Linked DNA regions of Homo sapiens: region 1 is linked to region 2. The links are contacts of gene promoters, found by promoter capture Hi-C in human tissues and cell types (Jung and others, 2019). All regions are on one chromosome and are shown on one strand. The core of a region is centred on a gene start or on the middle of the fragment in contact, and the rest is flanking DNA. Distances in the headings are between cores, read along the strand shown. Region 1 overlaps PRR5-ARHGAP8 (PRR5-ARHGAP8 readthrough). Region 2 holds the start of PHF21B (PHD finger protein 21B).

Region 1 (2,700 bases), core at 123-2,622, 160 kb before region 2:
CTTGTAGGCCAGGGTGCCCAGGAAATGTGCTTTGGCACGAGAGTCCATGCACATGGGGGTGGCATCAGTGAGCAGATGTGCTGGGCGGGGGCCTGGGAGACCATCTCCCTCAAACCCCAGACCCTGCGGCCCCAGCATTTCCCTCAGTCACGATGCTCAGCTGGCAGGTGAGCAGGTACGGGGGGCACCCCACACTGGGACCCCAAGAGGCCTGCCTGTCCCCGGCCTGGACTGCCCCTCCTTGCCCTCTACCGGTTAGGTCCTGCTTTCCGGAAGCCCTCTCCAATTCTGCCCCTCTCCCAGGCAGAACTGCCTTCTTCACGCCTCCCCATCATTCACTCATTCACTTGGGAGGCATTCGCTACGTGCCTCCCTCGTGCCAGACTCTGGGGATATCAAAGTGAGCACACGGGATGGGGAAGCAGCAGCTATTCCACCGAGAGCTGCCCAGATGCTGACTTCCATCAGGGAGAAGGCCCTGCCAGACCGGGGTCCCTGTTAGGGGGGTTGACCTTGTTGGGGGGCTTCCCTGAGGGAGGGGCAGTGGAGCTGAGCTCTGAGGACGGGGAGAAGCTGGCCATGCCGTGTGACAGAAAGGCCCCAGAGAGGAGAGCAGGTGAAGGGGCTCGTGGCTGTGGGAGTGCGGGAGCGTGCGGGGCTTCGAGGAAGTTGGGAGGAGAAGGGGAGGTCAGGCCTTGCAAGTCCCAAGAAGACTTGCACCTCCAGATGCCTGCGCCACAGTCCTAGGTCCTGGTGTTCCGGGGCACCCCCATCATGCACCGCAGGCCCCCCAAGGGCAGGCTCAGGCCTGTTTCTCTTTCTGGCTCTGAAGCCAGCAGGGGCCTGGCCAGAGGGAGCCCTTCCCTCTACCCCACAGCTGCTTTCATGAGCCAATTACAAGCACTGAAAATGCTCTTTATAAACTGACAATGGAGACAAGTTTTCTTCTTTGATTACAATCACCTCTTTAGCAGAATTGCCCAACTGAACTTGGACATCATCTATATCTTCACTGTCTAAACAGCAGCCACCAGCCCCTGTGGCAGTAGCTCAATAGGGCAGTTCATATGAGGCTCATGCAATTGAGTGACTAGATTTCTAATTTTATTTAATTTTAATTAAAGTTAAATCCCCATGTGCAGCTACTGGCTGCTGTGCTGGACAGCTCAGCCCTAGCTCTTGTGGGAAGTCACGTGTCTGGACGTCTCCCAGGTGCCAGGCACTTGCTGGGCATCACCGTGTCCAGTCCTCTCTGCAGCCCTTGGAGACAGGAGCTCATGGCCTTATTCTGTAGATAAACAAGGCAGATAGGCTCAGAGAGGCCGAGAGCTTTCTCTGAGGTCACACAGCTGGTAGGCAGAGCTGGACTAGAGCCTAGGTCTGTCTGAGATTAGAGTCTATTTCCGCTTTCCCTTTCCATGGACCACAGAGGTGGGAAATCGGGTGGGTTGGGGAATATGGAAAGGATTTGAGGAACAAATAAATGTGTGGAGGCCAGCCACAGGTGGGTGATGCCGTGGGCAGGGGAGTGTCATATAATGTCCTGGAAGCCCTTTGGGCTGGGACCTGTGAGATGCCTGGAAGCTCCTCTCCTGCAGGCCTGCGCACCGAGGGCCTGTTCCGGAGATCCGCCAGCGTGCAGACCGTCCGCGAGATCCAGAGGCTCTACAACCAAGGTGAGGGTGTCCCGCAGTCCTGAGCCCCGAGCTGCCTGGTCAGCGAGCACAGCGCTCCGGGGCCTCAGAGCGGAGGCAGGGAAGCACCGCCCCCGCAACCCACCCAACTCCCAGAAAACACTCAGGGTGGGGGCAGCTTCCCAGGAGGCATCGAGGGGCCCACTGGTAGTCCAGAGTGGGGACCTTTTGTCCAGACCCCCAACCCCACTGGGACATGGTGGCCGCATGATGCCATTTTGCCTTTAGGGTCTCTCCATCCACACCACGTGGCACGTGCTTTCAGGAGACACCCTGCAGTGCAGGGAAGCTGGTTTTTTTTATCTGGCAGCTCCCCCGAATTGGCTCAGCACGGCTTCCTTAACTGCCATGTGTAACCCGCAGGCAGGGGCAGTGGCCTCTGAGCTGAGGATGCATTGCACTGACGCTAATGAAGGCGCTGTCTTGCTGACAAGACTTGCCCTCGCTCCCACTCGCTCCCGTCATCAGTTGTGCATTACACAATCATGGAGCATCAGGTCTGCACGGGGCCCAGCTCAGGCCTGCCTGTCTCAGGCCCAGGGCCTGCGGTGTCATCTCTGCCACAGACCTGGCCTCAGAGAGCTGGCATTGTAGCCGGGAGCAACAGCATGCCACAGAGAAGCCAGCAGCCCACCCCAGTCCCCACTGGGAGCCCGGGAGGAGGCAGTTAGGGTAGTGTAGGGGCTGATGGGGCCAGAGCACACCCATTTCTAGGTGGGGACAGCATCATCCCTAGGACACATGGCTCCAGCATCAGGTGCGTCCCATCCGGACATCTCACGCCCTGTGTCTCAGAGCTCGTTCTGCAGCGGCAGTGCCCAGGCCGGGGTGCAGACCTCAGCAGTGCTGTGTTGTGTGTGCAGGGAAGCCCGTGAACTTTGACGACTACGGGGACATTCACATCCCTGCCGTGATCCTGAAGACCTTCCTGCGAGAGCTGCCCCAGCCGCTTCTGACCTTCCAGGCCTACGAGCAGATTCTCGGGATCACCTGTGCGTAGCTGCCC
Region 2 (2,700 bases), core at 30-2,529:
CACCCCAAGTTTCCCGGGCCGCGTCCTGCACGCGCGGCGGCCGGGCAGTGCCGCGCGGGGCCGCTTACCTGTGGCTGCCGCCTCATCGGGGCAGCTCGCGGGGCGGGGCGGGGGCCGAGGCCACCCGGCGGCGCGCCCCGAGCCGTGCAAGTTTGCAGGCCGGGGTGCGTGTGCGAGTGAGTGTGAGTGTGAGTGTGTGCCGGGGGAGGGGGGAGGAACAAAGAGCCAAGTAAACACGGCGAGTCCGTGTCGAGCAAAGCTCATAAATATTCAAGTCGCGTCCTAATCTCCCCAACACACACACGCGCACGCCGAGCCCCGCTCAGGCTCCGGCCGCCACGCCGCCGCTCGCCAGCAGCGATCGCCAAAACTACTTCTGCACACCGGGCAGGTTCGCCCGGGGCGCGGGGGCCCGAGGGGAGGCCGGAAGGGGGCCTATTCGCACTCCCCTCCCCGGGACCGGCTCACGAAGGGGCCCCCTCCAGGCACCCTCCCAGTCATGCAGACCCTACATCGCTTAAGAGAAGACTCCAGGCTCGGGTCCCACGCGTCCTCGATCCCGCAAACTGTGCAGGACAGCGCCAGGGGCAGGCGGAGGGGAGCCCAGAAGGGGGTCCGCGCGTGTGCTCACTCCCTCGCCCCCCGCCCCCGGGCAGGCTCCAGCCTGGAAGACCCAGAGACCCGGAAGAGAGGATGCTGGGCTCGGGTCCCCCGACCCCCTCACCCCGCAACACACTCCCCGGCCCCGGGCCCGGCCCCCGGCCACCTACCTGGTGGCGCGCGAGTTCCACGGCGAGCGCCTCGGGCCGGCTCTGCAGCTCCATCCCGGCAACTTGGGCAGCACTTTGCGCTCACTTTGGCCCGGGCTCCCGGGAAGTTGCGCGGCTCCGCGGGGGCCAGAGCGGGCGCGGGCGGACGCGGCCTCCGGGCTGGGTTGGGGGGGACACGAGCCCCCTCCCCCACGGCCGAAAGGGAAGGGGGCTGGCGAAGGGGAAGACAGGCTTCCGGGCGCCGCGGCGCCGAGCCCTCGGCTGCCCCAACTCCTCAGGCTGCCCGGCAAGTTGCGCCGGGTCCCCGGGCTGCCGGCGCGGCCCGGAGCATGGCCCCCCCGGCGCCGGGAGCCCCGCGCAGCCCCGCGCGCGCCCGCCCAGCCGCCGCCGCCGCCGCCTCCTCCCGCGCGAGCCTCCCGCGGGCAGGGACTATATTTCCTCCGGCGCGCGCGCCTGGATCTCGTTGGGCCTCGGCAAAGTTGTGCCTCGGCACGATGCTAATTCGGCAGTGCCCGGATGGAGCGGGCCGGGGCGGCGGGGGGCGGTGCCGGGACCCTCAGCCCGCCGCGCCCCGCCCCCGCCCCGCCCGCGCCTGCGCACTGCCGCCCCGCCGCGGCCCGGCACCCCGAGCGGAGAACAAAAGTGGCGGTGGACGGGGACGCACGGTCGCCGGCTCCGGGGACTGCTCGGGCCGGGCGCTCGGAGAGGACGACTGCGGAGTCATCCTCTCCGTCCCCGGGCCAACCCGGGGAACGCGGCGCCCCCACCCCCTGCGCCGTGTAACGCCGGGATCAGGACACTTTCCGCTGGGAGGCTGCGAGTCCGTGTTTCCATTTCTCCTCACCCTGGTCCTCGGCTCCCTCCTTTCCCCCCTCCTCCGCCTCCCTCTGATATTTTATTTAAATTCTTCCGTCCCCTCCTGTCCATACCAGCGCCGCGACTTGGGGGATTAAATTAGTCGCGTCGCCACATTCCCCCGCCGCCTGATGGCCTCCGTGTTGTTTAAACAGCAAGAAAATTGATCTCTTGGCTCTTCCTTTAATGATTTTTTTTTACACGATTAAACTCTCAACAGATGTCACTGGACATTTTAAGACTCTTGTTAAGAGTCGTAAACAGGCCCGGTCAATGCGACCTAAAACAATTATAATTACAGCTGCGGAGGTCGCGTTTCAGAACCCCCAGCCGCGCAGCCAGGAGGTTAATGTCCCAGAGTCACTGTCACCACCTCGGGGCTGCCATCTTCATTCAGGTCGGAGTGCCGGGTGCCCTGTTGGCAGCAAACTGGCACGTTTGAAACACGCTGGGGAGAAAGGGTGCAATCATATGTCAAAGTAAACGTTTAAGCTGTTAAGTCGTTTTAACTTCAGATTCCTCTCCGGCAGCACAAAAAATACCCAAGCAAGCACCATCAGCAAATGTCCCTTTCAACATATGCCAACAGGTCACACATTGCTTTTGTTGGCAGAAGTTATTGGAATTCCCCCTTTTCTTTCTTTTCTTTTTTTTTTTTTTTTCAAGTGAGGACCCCAGTGTTGTTCTGCTCTCTGTTAGGGAATTTGTAATAAATTACGTGTTTGGGACCCCCAAACACAGATGGCCCCTCATCCCACAACCCAGCACCTCGCCTTCAGAGCACGACAGAGTGAGACTTAGGATATGAGTAACTATGCAAAAAGCAGAGGGGCATGTAGATGACCCTTACTTTAACCCAAATTAGTTAACAGAAACTTGCAAACAGCGCTTTAAGACTCCATAGGAGGCCGGCCGGGGGCGGTGGCTCACACCTGTAATCCCAGTACTTTGGGAGGCCGAAGTGGGCAGATCACGAGGTCAGGAGTTCGAGACCAGCCTGCCCAACATGGTCTCGACTAAAAATACAAAAAATTAGGCATGGTGGCGCAAGCCTGTAATCCCAGCTACTCGGGAG

Evidence for each region. Contacts are between HindIII fragments. The study calls those that stand out against the background at their distance.
Region 1: a contact is called between a fragment that was not itself captured here and the fragment with the promoter of PHF21B in region 2, in 1 of the 25 tissues and cell types used here (stomach).

Annotation. Positions count from the first base shown.
Region 1 is chr22:44,846,375-44,849,074 of GRCh38, forward strand. PRR5-ARHGAP8 (PRR5-ARHGAP8 readthrough) reads left to right here. Exons shown (of 15, transcript NM_181334.6): 12 at 1,599-1,676; 13 at 2,558-2,686. ARHGAP8 (Rho GTPase activating protein 8) reads left to right here. Exons shown (of 12, transcript NM_181335.3): 9 at 1,599-1,676; 10 at 2,558-2,686. Among named protein-coding and RNA genes, the nearest start is that of ARHGAP8, 95 kb to the left of the region's middle. The HindIII fragment of the contact is 5,670 bases long and covers 1-2,700 here.
Region 2 is chr22:45,008,726-45,011,425 of GRCh38, forward strand. It overlaps PHF21B (PHD finger protein 21B), which reads right to left and starts at 1,280. Exons shown (of 13, transcript NM_138415.5): 1 at 771-1,280. The coding sequence starts at 824. RefSeq lists an enhancer at 1-260. The HindIII fragment of the contact is 18,572 bases long and covers 1-2,700 here.